Regions from separate parts of the Homo sapiens genome. Here all the other regions are linked to region 3. The links are contacts of gene promoters, found by promoter capture Hi-C in blood cells and fetal thymus (Javierre and others, 2016). All regions are on one chromosome and are shown on one strand. Each heading gives the region's core, a stretch centred on a gene start or on the middle of the fragment in contact. The rest is flanking DNA. Distances are from core to core; before and after follow the strand shown.

The links. Contacts are between HindIII fragments. The CHiCAGO score rates a contact against its expected background, and 5 or more counts as called.
Region 1: a fragment that was not itself captured here is called in contact with the fragment with the promoter of RNF111 in region 3 in 1 of 17 cell types (neutrophils); the score reaches 9.6 in neutrophils.
Region 2: a contact is called between a fragment that was not itself captured here and the fragment with the promoter of RNF111 in region 3, in 1 of 17 cell types (M2 macrophages). The highest score is 5.2, in M2 macrophages.
Region 4: a fragment that was not itself captured here is called in contact with the fragment with the promoter of RNF111 in region 3 in 3 of 17 cell types (fetal thymus, megakaryocytes and endothelial precursors); the score reaches 8.2 in fetal thymus.
Region 5: a contact is called between a fragment that was not itself captured here and the fragment with the promoter of RNF111 in region 3, in 8 of 17 cell types (neutrophils, total CD8 T cells, total B cells and 5 more). The highest score is 10.7, in neutrophils.

What each region holds. Positions count from the first base shown.
Region 1 is chr15:59,693,076-59,695,775 of GRCh38, forward strand. No RefSeq gene overlaps it. Among named protein-coding and RNA genes, the nearest start is that of BNIP2, 5.1 kb to the left of the region's middle. The HindIII fragment of the contact is 5,936 bases long and covers 1-2,700 here.
Region 2 is chr15:59,631,526-59,634,237 of GRCh38, forward strand. No RefSeq gene overlaps it. Among named protein-coding and RNA genes, the nearest start is that of GCNT3, 21 kb to the left of the region's middle. The HindIII fragment of the contact is 1,233 bases long and covers 675-1,907 here.
Region 3 is chr15:58,986,194-58,988,912 of GRCh38, forward strand. RNF111 (ring finger protein 111) reads left to right here and starts at 1,470. Exons shown (of 14, transcript NM_017610.8): 1 at 1,470-1,875. RefSeq lists a silencer at 2,189-2,353. The HindIII fragment of the contact is 2,845 bases long and covers 1-2,621 here.
Region 4 is chr15:58,221,911-58,224,610 of GRCh38, forward strand. No RefSeq gene overlaps it. Among named protein-coding and RNA genes, the nearest start is that of AQP9, 85 kb to the left of the region's middle. The HindIII fragment of the contact is 1,662 bases long and covers 456-2,117 here.
Region 5 is chr15:59,538,621-59,541,381 of GRCh38, forward strand. No RefSeq gene overlaps it. Among named protein-coding and RNA genes, the nearest start is that of GCNT3, 72 kb to the right of the region's middle. The HindIII fragment of the contact is 5,264 bases long and covers 1-2,761 here.

The DNA.
Region 1 (2,700 bases), core at 155-2,654, 710 kb after region 3:
GCCTGTAATCCCAGCACTTTGGGAGGCTGAGGTGGACGGATCACCTGAGGTCTGGAGTTGGAGACCAGGCTGGCCAACATGGTGAAACCCCACCTCTACTAAAAATACAAAATTTAGCTGGGTGTGGTGGCACACATCTGTAATCCCAGCTACTTGGAAGGCTGAAGCAGGGAAATCGGTTGAACCTGGGAGGTGGACGTTTCAGTGAGCCGAGGTCGCGCAACTGAACTCCAGCCTGGATGACAGAGCGAGACTCTGTCTCAAAAAACAAACAAACAAAAAAACCCACTGTATTCCCTGTGTTTCCAGACTTTTTGGACAAGATTTAGGGTATTTTTACAATTACTTATTGTTTCCTTGAATAGGCAGATATTTAAGCTCTTAAAAATTGGGGAAAAATTCCGTGGAAAAAAAAGCATGGCTTCCAGCCCTTATGCCCTACATAGCAGGTAACACTTGGAGAGTGATACATTAGCTCAGAGCCATGGTCAGCCTTTTCTTGTGTAGTTTTTGGTGTTATGTTTAAATAGGCATTCCTCACACTAAAATTGTATAGTCACTGTTGTTTTCTTTTTCTTTTTTTTTTGAGACGGAGTCTCGCTCTGTCGCCCAGGCTGGAGTGCAGTGGCGTGATCTCGGCTCACTGCAACCTCCATCTCCTGGGTTCAAGCAATTATCTGCCTCAGCCTCCCAAGTAGCTGGGATTATAGGTGCCTGCCACCACGCCCAGCTAATTTTTATATTTTTAGTGGAGACAGGGTTTCACCATTTTGGCCAGGTTGATCTTGAACTCCTGACCTCGTGATCCGCCCGCCTCAGCCTCCCAAAGTGCTGGGATTACAGTGAGCCACTGCGCCCGGCCCATCACTGTTGTTTTCTTCTGGTGGTCTTATAGTTTCTTTTTCTTTTTTCTTTTCTTTTTTTTTTTACATATGAATATTAAATCCAATTGGCATTTTGTGTATGTGCTTATGATATGAATAGGGAGTCTGACTTTACTAAACTGACTAAAGAGTTTGTGTAAAAGCATTTATTGAATAATCCAGTAATTCTTGAACTCACCTAGGACTCAGTCAAATGAATGTTTACTTTCAAAGTTGTCATTTTAGATTACCCACTTCTTTCAAGTATCCATTCATTTGATACATCTTTATTTACTTATTTAAATATTTATTTAGAAATGGGGTCTTGCTATTTTACCTAGGCTGGTCTCGAACTCCTGGCCTCAAGCAATCCTCCTGCCTCAGCCTCTCGAAGTGCTCTGCCATGCCCGCTTGAGATATATATATATATATGTTCTGAGACAGGGTTTCACTCTGCCATCTAGGCTGGAGTGCAGTGGCACGATCTTGGCTCACTGCAACCTTCGCCTTCTGGGTTTGTGCCTCAGCCATCAGAGTAGCAGGACTATAGGCGTGTGCCACCACACCCGGCTAATCTTTTTACTTTCATTTTTTAGTAGAGACAGGGTTTCGCCATGTTGACCAGGCTGGTCTCCAACTCCTGACCTTAAGTGATCTGCCTGCTTCAGCCTCTCAAATTGCTGGGATTACAGGTGGGAGCCACCACACCTGGCCAGTAAATCTTTATTGAACAATATCATAAATCAATGCTGTTGGGCCCCGAGGATGCAGGAAAAAAAAAGACATAGTATCTGCATTCAAAGAGCTTATCAACTGGTTAGGGAGAGGAGCAATGAAGACAATAAACAATTTGGTGGATTGAGGTGACCTTGGTACTTTTAAGGTGCAGCTAAATTGAAGGGAGCTAAACAGATTAGAGAGTGGGAGATAAAGGCAGTAGAGGTTTTCTGAATGAGGAGATCTTGAGCTTAGTAACAAGAGGATGATCTTTCTGGCAGAGGGAATTGGAATATGCAGATTCACAGAGGCTTCTAGGAACTGCAGTGTTCAGCATGACCAGAGCACAAGCAATGGGAGAAGGGGTGGCTGTAAATAGCCCTTAACAAAAAGGAAGTAGTCAAAGGCCAGATTAAAAAGGGATTTTTTTTAATGGTAAGGATTTATTTGTAGCCAATATAATGAGCAATGTGGAAAAGGAATCATCTATTAATTTATAATCGAATTCCAAAAGAAGAGATTGAAAGGTATCCTGCACAGTGGCAGCAGCGTTAGGATGAGTCCTCCTAAGACAACGAACTTTGAGAAAGGCAGCACTCATTTGAATATATGCTTCAGTATGTGTTAAAAGCATTTATGATACTTTGTCACACTTTGTACATTAAAATAAAAGTGCTCAGCCAACATAGACTTGGAAGAGGTGTTGAGCCTGTGCCGAGAGTGGTGGATAGTGATGAAAGGCTGAAGGCATGGACATGATGGCTAGACGGGGAGGCAGAAGACACCATCTGACCTATGCTAACAGGGAGTGATGTATCAGACTGATGAGAACAGGCCCTCTGACAACTTCTTGAAAGAATGATAATAGGCCAGGTGTGGTGGCTCGCACCTGTAATCTCAGCACTTTGGGAGGCCGAGGTGGGCGGATCATGAGGTCAAGAAATTGAGATCATCCTGGCCAAAATGGTGAGACCCTGTCTCTAAAAATACAAAAATTAGCTGGGCGTGGTGGTGCGTGCCTGTAATCCCAACTACTTGGGAGGCTGAGGCAGGAGAATTGCTTGAACCTGGGAGGCGGAGGTTGCAGTGAGCTGAGATCATGCCACTGTACTCCAGCCTG
Region 2 (2,712 bases), core at 41-2,540, 650 kb after region 3:
CACATATATATACATATATATATATTTTTTGAGATGGAGTCTTGCTCCATTGCCCAGGCTAGAGTGCAGTGGCGCAGGTATAGCTCACTATAGCCTCGAACTCCTGAGCTCAAGCAATTCTCCTGCCTTGGCCACCCAAGTAGATGGGACTACAGGTGCATGCCACCACACCTGGCTAATTTTTTTTTTTTTTTTGGTGGAGATGGGAGTCTCTATGTTGCCCAGGCTGGTCTCTAACTAGTGGCCTCAAGCAATCCCTCCCGCCTCAGCCTCCCAAAGTGCTGGGATTACAAGTGTGACCCGACATGCCTGGTTGGTAATTCTATTTTTAATTTTTTGAGGAACCATCATACTGTTTTCCTTAGTTGTGCCAGTTTTATATTCTCACCAATACTGTAAAAGAATTCCACTATGTCTATATTCTCACCAACACTTATTAATTTTTTTTTCTCTGCTAGTAGCCATCCTTATGGGTGTGAGGTGGTCTTCAGTATTTTTAAGATTTTATTTCATTGTCTTCTAGCTGCATAGCTGTTAACAAGTAGTCTTTGGAAATCATTATCTTTGTTTTTGTGGGTATAAAGTGTCTCTTACCTCTGCTTTTAAATTTTCTCTTTATCACTATTTTTCAGCAATTAGATTTTGATGTACTGTGGTTATCCTGCTTGGAGTTAAGCTTCTTCGTTGTTGGTTTATAGTTTTCGTCAAATTTGGAAAAATTTGGCCACTGTCTCCTTAATTTCATCTTTCTGTTCTCCCTTCCATATATAGCCACTCGATATTATTCCAAAAATCTCTGAGGTTTGATTCCTTTTTTCCCTAGTTATATTCTCTTTGTGCTGTATTTTAGATAAAATTTGTTTTTCAATTTCACTGATCTTCTTTAGTATCTAGTCTGCTATTCAGTTAATTGTTTTCATATATTGTATCTTTCATCTCTAGAAGTTCTGCTTTTTAAAAAAATCTTTGATTTTTCTCATTAAGTATTTGTATTAATACAAAAATGGCAGTTTTAACATCCTTGTCTGCTAGCTGTATCACCCCTGTCATTTCTGTGTCTGTTCCTGTTCATTATGTTTTGTCCTCATTATGGTCACATTTTCCTGCTGCTTAGCATGTCTAGTCATTTTTCTGTTAGATGGAGTACATTGTAACTCTTAAGTTATTGAGGATCTGGACTTCGTTTACTTGTGTTGGGCTTCATTTTGGCAATATTTGTGGAACAGTGTGATCTCCCTTGAGTCTGCTTTTCCGCTTTGCTAGGGTGAGTTTAAGTCAAGCAGCCTTCATTCAAGGGATATTTGATGCCTGCTACCAAGGCATGACCTTGGGGTTTCTAATGTCTTGGGTGATTACAGAGGACTCTTCCCTCTGGCATCCCCCAGTGTGAGCTTTGGGAATTGCTGTTTCCAACTCCCCACTCTTAGCTTGGCCTAGCGGAGTGTCACTGCTTCTATGCAGCCAGGCACTCAGTAAGGACTCGAGGGGACCACGGTATAGATTCCTGGAGGTTTTTTTTTCCCTCCATAGTGTTCTCCTTTCTGGAAATCTGCTTGCAGCTTCAACTATCTCACCTTTCCTCAACTCCGCAAGACTGCCAGGTTCTGTTTCTATTTCCTTTCCCTGTGCCTGCAGCTTGGATATTGCCTCCATGAAGAGAGCTGGGATGATTACAGGGTTCATCCTATTTTTTTCCTTTCTTAGGGATTACAGTCCTGTCACAGCTGCCTGTGGTCCAATATGTGGAAAACGTTTGTTTCATATACTTAATTTACTTTTCTAGTTGTTTATAGAAGGAAGTTAAGTCCCATCCTTCTTACTCTGGCATGACTAAATGTGGAAGTCTGCAGATAGAGTATTCCTATCAGGGAATAGAGGGAGTAGAAGCAGGAAAGAGAAATGCACAAAGCTTCTGTGTCCATCCCTTAACTTGGCCAAAGAATCAGTGCTGCCCATGTGTCTCCAGAAGTGGAAAGTATACCTTCACATCTCTGCCTACAGGCAAAAGAACCAGTTTTGAAGCCTATTTCTCTTGAATAGAATTTCAGGAAGTTCACAGAATCAGATAATAAGAGTTGGGATATTCAAGAGAAAGTTCCGTTGAGCATATTTCTACACAATGCTCTTTTGAGCTAATTCCCACTAAATACTTTGCTGTGTGTTGCCAAGTTCCTGTACCTCTTATTAGGTAAAATGCTTTGCCCTAAACTCCTTGCAGATTGTGCCTCCCTATGTACTAGAAAAATAAGATTACATTCTTACTACAGCATGCAAAAAATAGATGAATATTCATCAAATTAGAGAAGATTTTAGGATGGACTGACAAAAGCTACAAATTAATTCTGGAGGCTCCCTAAGGAGATGGCAAATAATCATCCAGAGCAGCTGAAACTGTTATGAGACCTTACTATCCATGTTGTGTTACTATCATGGCTTGTACAGGACCAACATGCCATGATAGTAAGACAACATGGACAAAGAAAACAAGCCTCAAATATAATATTTTAGGCTAAGTGCTGCACATTGCAGGCATTGATTTAAAAAAATCTTAGAATTGGCCGGGGATGGTGGCTCATGCCTGTAATTCCAGCACTTTGGGAGGCCGAGGCGGGCGGATCATCTAAGGTCAGGAGTTCAAGACCAGCCTGACCAACATGGTGAAACCTTGTCTCTACTAAAAACAACAAAATTAGCCAGGCGTGGTGGCACATG
Region 3 (2,719 bases), core at 220-2,719:
TGTGTGTGTGTGTTTTGTTTGTTTGTTTGTTTGTTTGTTTTGAGACGGAATCTCACTCTGTCGCCCAGGCTGGAGTGCAGTGGCACAATCTCGCACTCACTACAACCTCTGCCTCCCGGGTCCTAGCAATTCTCCTGTGTCAGCCTCCCGAGTAGCTGGGGTTACAGGCGCCCGCCACTACGCCCGGCTAATTTTTTGTATTTTTAGTAGAGACAGCGTTTCACCGTGTTAGCCAGGATGGTCTCCATCTCCTGACCTCATGATCCGCCCGCCTTGGCCTCCAAAAGTGCTGGGATTACAGGCGTGAGCCACCGCGCCCAGCCTTTTTTTTTTTTTTCTTGGAGACGGAGTCTCCCTGTCACCCGGGCTGGGGTGCAATGGCTTGATCATGGCTCACTGCAACCTCGGCCACCCTGGCTCAAGCGATTCTCCTGCCTCAGCCTGCCGAGTAGCTGGGATTACAGGCGTCCGCCACCACGCCCAGCTAGTTTTTGTATTTTTAGTGGAGAAGGAGTTTCACCATGTTGGCCAGGCTGGTCTTGAACTCCTGATCTCAGGTAGTCCACCCGCCTAGGCCTCCCAAAGTGCTGGGATTACAGGCGTGAGCCACCGTGCCCGGCCAAAATCATTTGCTTACTGAATGATACGGAAAATATGAGTGAACAAAAAAAGTATTGAAAAAGATGAGTTGATGGCAAAGGGAGGGAATTAATGTTTAGTGAACACTTAATTGGCAAGTAATGTTCAGAGCATTATATAAATTGTCTCATTTAATCTAACAAGAACCTTTTGAGGTAAATACGTTATCCCAATTTATAGAGGAGGAAACTAAGATTTATAAGGATCTCATCAATCAGAGAACTCTTAAGTGGCACCACTGGACTTTGAAAGGAAGTCTGCCTGATGGACTCTGAAGCTCATCCTCTCTCTATCCTCCTAATGCATATAATGACGCATTTGTTATCTACTGACTTTTATAAAATAAACAAGGAGGCTTATGCGATTGTACAGCCCGAGTTCGCAGGAGATATGTGACCACTTTTGATCTGATTCCGGAAGCAAATTCACTTTAACAGTGAGGTGCCGTGATCTTTATGTCATTAGCGCATATGATATGGGTATCATTTGTTGTGAAAGACACTAACCCATGATGTTTTTGTTTACGTATATCTGTAAATGTATCAATTCTGTAGTTGGTTAATTTTTAGTTACGAAAAAATGAACCAAGATGTAGTCAAGATTTGGCTTAAATGTTGAACGCATAATCACCAAAGAAAATTAAATAATGAGCTTTGTGACACCTTTCAGTTCGCCAACAGACTGATAAAACCAGTACAAAGGGGGAGGGCCGGGACCGAGGGGGCGGGACGGTGAGAAACGGGAATCGAGCAAGCGCAGAAACAAACAGATGTTAATGGAGGCGTGAAGGCTACTGCGCTCTCACTTTCCGAACTGTCGTAAAGAGCCCTAGTGTCGTGCTCTCCTCGGTAGGGGAGGAATTGGTTAGGCGGCGGCGGCGGCGAAGCGGCGGCGGCGGCTGTAGGGGAGCAGCGGCAGTGGCGGCGACGGCGAGGAGGTGTTCGGTTTGCGCAGCGTAGAAACGCCCGCAGCTTCAGAGAAGGAGTTCTTGTGGGACCAAATTAGGCATTCTGAACCCACGCCGGCTTAGCTGGGCCGAGTCCAGGCGCTGCCGCACGTACAGTTTTGGTGGCGGTGACAGACACTGTTCTTGACTCTAGGGGCCTATTAGGCCGACGTCTGAGGCGCAGATCGCTGGCTCTCGACGCATTACTCTTTACGCCTTACATTTCTGTCTTCCTTCCTGGGTCAGTGATTCCCGGACCCTGGAAGAGAAGAGGGTGGCTAATGATTAAGGTGAGGGGAACGGGGGGGGAGGGGATCCATTGGAGGCCGCGCGTGCGCGCAACGGGGGAGGGGCCGGCCTGGAGGGGAGAAAGAGGAAGGGCTGCGGCCGCGGAAGGCTGGGGTCGGTGACCGGCCGGTTATCTCTGGCTCGGTGGTGACTTAGGGTCTGGGTCTCCGCAGACGATTTGTGTTTGGGCAAGGCATTCGTCTACCGACACACCCACAGCCTACAGTGAGGGAGTGTGGGTGAGGGGATTTCTCTCCCACTTCCGACTCTCCCTAGAGTCTCAGGATGGGGGCTGAGGACCGAGGCGTGGGAGTGCGATTTGACAATGGAGTGATGAAGGTAACCCGGACCCGGGGAGTTGGAGGGCGCTAAGTCAGCCCTGACGGCTAGGGAGTCGCCTGCTGCTGCTGTGATCAAGGAAACGTAGTCCGCGGAACAGCTGAAATACAGACGCGTCAGATTTTGTATGGAGTTGGCTTGTTGGTCATTTAAAAAGAAACTGATGTTTTTACTATTGTCCTTCGATAATTTATCAGAGTCAGTGTCAGTGCTATAGTGGGAATATCTGTTCAGTGCAGCAGAAATAGATTTGTTACAACAGTTCTTAAATAGGTTATAGTAGATAGATCTTTACAGATGGGTATTTCTCAACCTAAGTTTTGATTATTCAAAAAATACCAGAAAGTATGAGGTATTCATTTAATTTGTTCGTGTGTGTGTTGTGGGGTGACTCCATTGTGTTGTTGTAAGCTTTCCTGTTTCTTGATTTATGTGCGGCATTAATTTAGAATTCTCTTGAATGGTAAGATGCCAGCTGACATAGACTACGTTTTGTAGGATTTCCTG
Region 4 (2,700 bases), core at 37-2,536, 760 kb before region 3:
CTATTAATCCTCCTGAACCTTGATCTCCAATTCAGGGTCTGCCACCTGGGGCCCAACCTGAGACCCCCCCAGAGTCATCCATTTTACTATTAGTAGAATTAAAAACTGACACCAAATCTTCTGACAATAAATCTACTAGTTGCACTGTATCATATTGCCTTTCAGATCCTTATCAATTTCCTTAAGTGTTAAGAACACTGAGGCCACTATTCAAATTTCCTCCTGGGGCAAAACGTCTCTATCTTTAAAGTTACTTGGCATCAAAGATAGTATTCTAGTTTTATTTAAAATACAATGTATTTAAAACACAACACATTGTGTTTTAAATAAAACAAACTAGAATATCCACTAAAATCTCTTCAGCGTTTGAATCTGGATAAAATTGATATGAAGTCCTAGTCCACGCTCTGTGGAAATTCAAAGCTTTCTGCAAGATTTCTGTAAATTTCCCCAAAAGCTTATATTCTTAAAACAGTTCTTACTCTGTCTCCTGCTTCCAAATGTACTGTCTAGCACATAGTAGGTGCTCAGTAAATATTTATTGTTAGCCAAGTGCCTCTTTTCCTTTCTCCTGGGAATAGTGGCCTCTTTGGGGAAACAATTTCTTTTCCCAGCATCTCAATACTAAAACAAGGGTTCCAAAACAGAGTATTTCTCTTTTTTACATGCAAATATTTTAGCATCAGTGATTGGCCCAGGGTTGAACACATAACCCAATTCAAGCCAATCAGTATCTCTTCCAGTGACTAAAGATTAGAACTAAGGGGAAAAGATCTTTTCGTGTCTGGCAGCAAAGCTCCGAGGTTAAGAGCCTGGAAGCTGCTGGTGGCCACATCCCTGTTGAGTAGAGAAAGTTCATCTGTCAAGGAAAAAATAAAGCCCACACATAATGATCAAGAGAGGAATCTGATGGTGTTTCAGTCCTACATAGCATAGTCTCTGAGCCAGCTCCACCTTCCCACAGTGTGAGCTGAAAAATGACATCACTGTCAGAGAAGCAGGCTAAATTACTTCCCCACAAGATGGAGCTGATGATAAGTGGCAATAATTGTAGTGGAAAAGGAATGTAGAATTAGAAAATAACACCAATCACAAAAACAAGTCAAAAGCTGTACACATAAAAAGGCAAAGAGAGAGTGACAGATTAAGAAGGTGAACAATGTTGCACAGTCCATTTGTGAACTGTTAAAAATGTAGCCTCTCCCTGGAAAACCCTTGCCCTTTGTCCATCAGCAACTCCTGTGATTCCAAAAAAGGCCATGTCTCTCCTCCAGAGGAAAACTTACTTGTGGCCCTTATCTAACCTCCCTCCCTACACATCTCTGTAAGTCCAATGTAGAACATGGGTTTGAGGTAGACTTCATTTGCTAAATACTTATCAAGAAGGCTTCAAAAAGCTGGTAGGGTTTTTAGTATCCATGTCACACAGAACAACGCCATTTGGTCTGGAAGAATGGCCTCAAGTTGGCTGTCTACATTAGTCAGCATCATCAAACAATCACTGAATCTCCAGCGGCCTACCCCAAGACTTTGGGAAGTGGAGGTTTTGTCTTTTGCAAAGGATTGATCCTCCTTTCTCTTTCTTTTTCTAGAAAGAGGAGAAAGATTTATCCTAGCATTAAGTTCCAGAGGAAAACTATTTTTGCTTCAGTGGAACTGAATGATTTGTAAAATCATTCCTCCTTTCAGGTTCTAGGTAGAATCACGTGCTCAAAATGATGCAATAGATGGAATTTATGCGAGCCAACCGTCTAACATTGCCCCCCTCCCCTCAATACACATACACACTTAGTCTTATAGGGGTGCTGTTCCAAAAAGGCCTCACCAAAAGCCCCCTCATACTCAGGTCTGCCTATGCAGTTTATACAGAGGAAGGGTCTTTTGGGAACCCTGCCCAGGTTCTTCTGGACAAAAGGCATAAATAACTCCAACTGGGTAGGTGACTGCTGGGGTCTGTAACATGGGCATTTTCCCAGTGATGAGGCTTTGAAATCCTCCAGGGTTTGAGACAAAATGTTAACTCTGTTGACTACAGGAAAATGATAAAGAAACAGCAAACACCACTTTAACACCAAAAGCTAGATTGTAATATGAATTTTCAAAATTCTAATTCTCTAAGCTTCCACTCCTGCATCCACAAAATGAAGAACAACAAGACCTACTTCACGCAGTGTCGTGCTCAGGCAATGTTGAGTAAGTGAATCACTGAGCTAATTAATTTGCTAAATAAATGCATCAGTGTTCTTGGTTGCAAACAATGGAAACTCAATACAACTAACTTAAGCAGAAAAAGCATCTGTGGTCAAGGCCCCTGGGGGCTCACAGAATTGGCCAGGAAGCAGAAAAGCCAGTGCATGATTGTGGGATGGAACCCAAGCAGGAAACACAGCCAAGGTCTTGGCACAGCAGCAGCCAGTCAGGACACAGCTGTCATCCCCCAGTGCTCACACACTGCCCAGCTAGAGGCCTGTCCCTGACCCACCCCCAGACATGTCCCTTGCTGCTGGGCTGTCCACTCACCTAGTGCAACTCCCCTGCCAAAGAAAATAGAAATGGGTCTCGTTCTGTGTGCCTGAGTCTCCTGGCTTCACCACTTAATGTTTAAAAAAAATGTATAAATGTAACAATGTGGAGAAATTACCGCAATTTTAAAATAGCCATTTCTTTCACAACCAGAGCAATTAATTTCAAGTTTAGTTT
Region 5 (2,761 bases), core at 262-2,761, 550 kb after region 3:
TCGCTGCAGCCTTGACTTCCTGGGCTCGAGAGATCCTCCTGCATCAGCCTCCCCACCTGGGACCACAGGTGCATGCCATCACACCCAGCTAATCAATTTTTTTTTTTTGAGACAGGGTCTTACTGTGTTGCCCAGGCTGGTCTGAAACTCTTGGTCTCCAGCAATCCTTCCACCTCAGCCTCCCAAAATGCCGGAATGACAGACATCAGGCTCTGTGCCTGGCTAGTAACAAGTTTTGATGAAGATGTGAAGAAATTTGGAAACCTCATATATTGCCAGTGAAAATGCAAACTGGTGCAGCCCCTTTGGTTTCATTTACTTATTTATTTTTGAGATAAGTTTTCACTCTGTTGCTCAGGCTAGAGTGCAGTGATACAATTATAGCTCACTGTAGCCTCAACCTCCTGGCTCAAGTGATCCTACCCACTCGGCCTCCTGAGTATTTAAGAGTATCAGTGCAGGCCACCACACCCAGCTATATATTTTTTATATATATGTATGTGTATATATACACATATATATGTGTGTGTGTATATATATGTGTGTGTGTATGTATATGTACGTATATATGTGTGTATATATGTACATATATATATACGTGTATATGTGTGTATATACATACGTATATGTGTATATATACGTATATACGTGTATATATATGTGTATATATACGTGTATATATACGTGTGTATATATACGTGTATATATACGTGTGTATATATACGTGTATATATACGTGTGTATATATACGTGTATATATACGTGTGTATATATACGTGTATATATACGTGTGTATATATACGTGTATATATACGTGTGTATATATACGTGTATATATACGTGTGTATATATACGTGTATATATACGTGTGTATATATACGTGTATATATACGTGTGTATATATACGTGTATATATACGTGTGTATATATACGTGTATATATACGTGTGTATATATACGTGTATATATACGTGTGTATATATACGTGTATATATACGTGTGTATATATACGTGTATATATACGTGTGTATATATACGTGTATATATACGTGTGTATATATACGTGTATATATGTGTGTATATATACGTGTATATATATGTGTGTATATATACGTGTATATATATACGTGTGTATATATACGTGTATATATATACGTGTGTATATGTGTATATATATACGTGTATATATATACGCGTATATATATACGTGTATATATATATATATATATTTTTTTTTTCTTGGTAGAGGCAGGGTCTTATTATGTTGCTCAGGCTGACCTTGAACTCCTCAAGTGATCCTTCTGCCTTGGCCTCCCAAAGTGCTAGGATTACAGATGTGAGTCACCATGCCACACCCTGGAAAAGAGTGTGGTAAACAGGCAGTTCTTCAAAATGTTGAGTATAGAGTTCCCATATGACCCAGCAGTTTTACTGCTAAGTGTGTACACCAAAGAACTGAAAACCTAGGTCCACACAAAGACCTGTACAAGAATATTCATAACATGACAAAAAGGAATTTGAGGAAATCTAAAAAAAAAAAAAGAATATTCATAGAAGCATTTTCATAGTAGACAAAAGGTGGGAACAACACAAATATTCATCAACTGATGAATGGATAAATAAAATGTGGCACATAATACAATGTAATATTATTCAGCCGTAAAAAGGAATGGAATTGTGATCCATGCTACATCATGGATGACCCTTGGAAAGATTCTTTTTTTTTAAAATTAAATGTTTTGAGACAGTATCTCACTCTGTTGCCCAGGCTGGAGTGCAGCGGCCTGATCACGGCTCACTGCAGCCTGGATCTCCCAAGGTTCAGGTGATCCTCGTGCCTCAGCCCCCAAAACAGCTGGGAATGCAGGTGCTCACCACCATGCCTGACTGATTTTTGTATTTTTAGTAGAGATGGGGTTTCGCCATGTTGCCCAGGCTGTTCTCAAACTCCTGGGCTCAAACGATCTACCCACCTCGGTCTCACAAAGTACTGTGATTATAGGTGTGAGACACCACGACCAGCCTGGAAATATATCTGAAGTGAAGGAAGCCAGTCACAAAAGACCACATAGGGTAAAATTTCATGCATTATAAAATGTTCAGAACAGGCCAATCTATAAACACAGAAAGTGGCTTGGTGGTTTCCAGAAACTGGGGTGAAGGTGGAATGATAAGTGACTGCTAATGCGGACAAGGTTTCTTTTTGGAGTGATAAAAATATTAAAACACTCTCTACCAATAACCTGGAGGAAAATAAACACTCAACATCCATTTAAAAATGTAATAAAGATAAAGACGTGGTTGTGCCTTTGGGTTCAAAATATAACTGGGTTGAAGTGGATGTCTCCTGCTGCCTGGCCAGCCTGTGCCTTCTTTTACTAGGGTGACAGCCTCTGGCTTCTCTTGAAGAACAAGCCCCGGTTCTGTGTGGTTCTGGTGGAAATGTTATTGAAAGGACTCCTTACCTCCCACTAAGGGGCAAATACTTTGGCTTGGAAATTTGAACTGAATTAAATGGCCTAAGGAAACTGTTGAGATGGAATCATTCTCAGGATAGCACTTGAAATCTTTCCCTCCTTCCTTCCTTCTTTCCTTCCTTCCTTCCCTTCCTCCCTCCCTCCCTCCCTCCTTCCCTTCCCTCCCTCCCTTCCTCCTTCCTTCCTTCCCTCCCTTTCTTTTTTTTGAAACAGAGTTTCACTTTTGTCATCCAGGCTGGAGTGCAATAGCATGATCTCGGCACACTGCAACCTCCACCTCCTGGG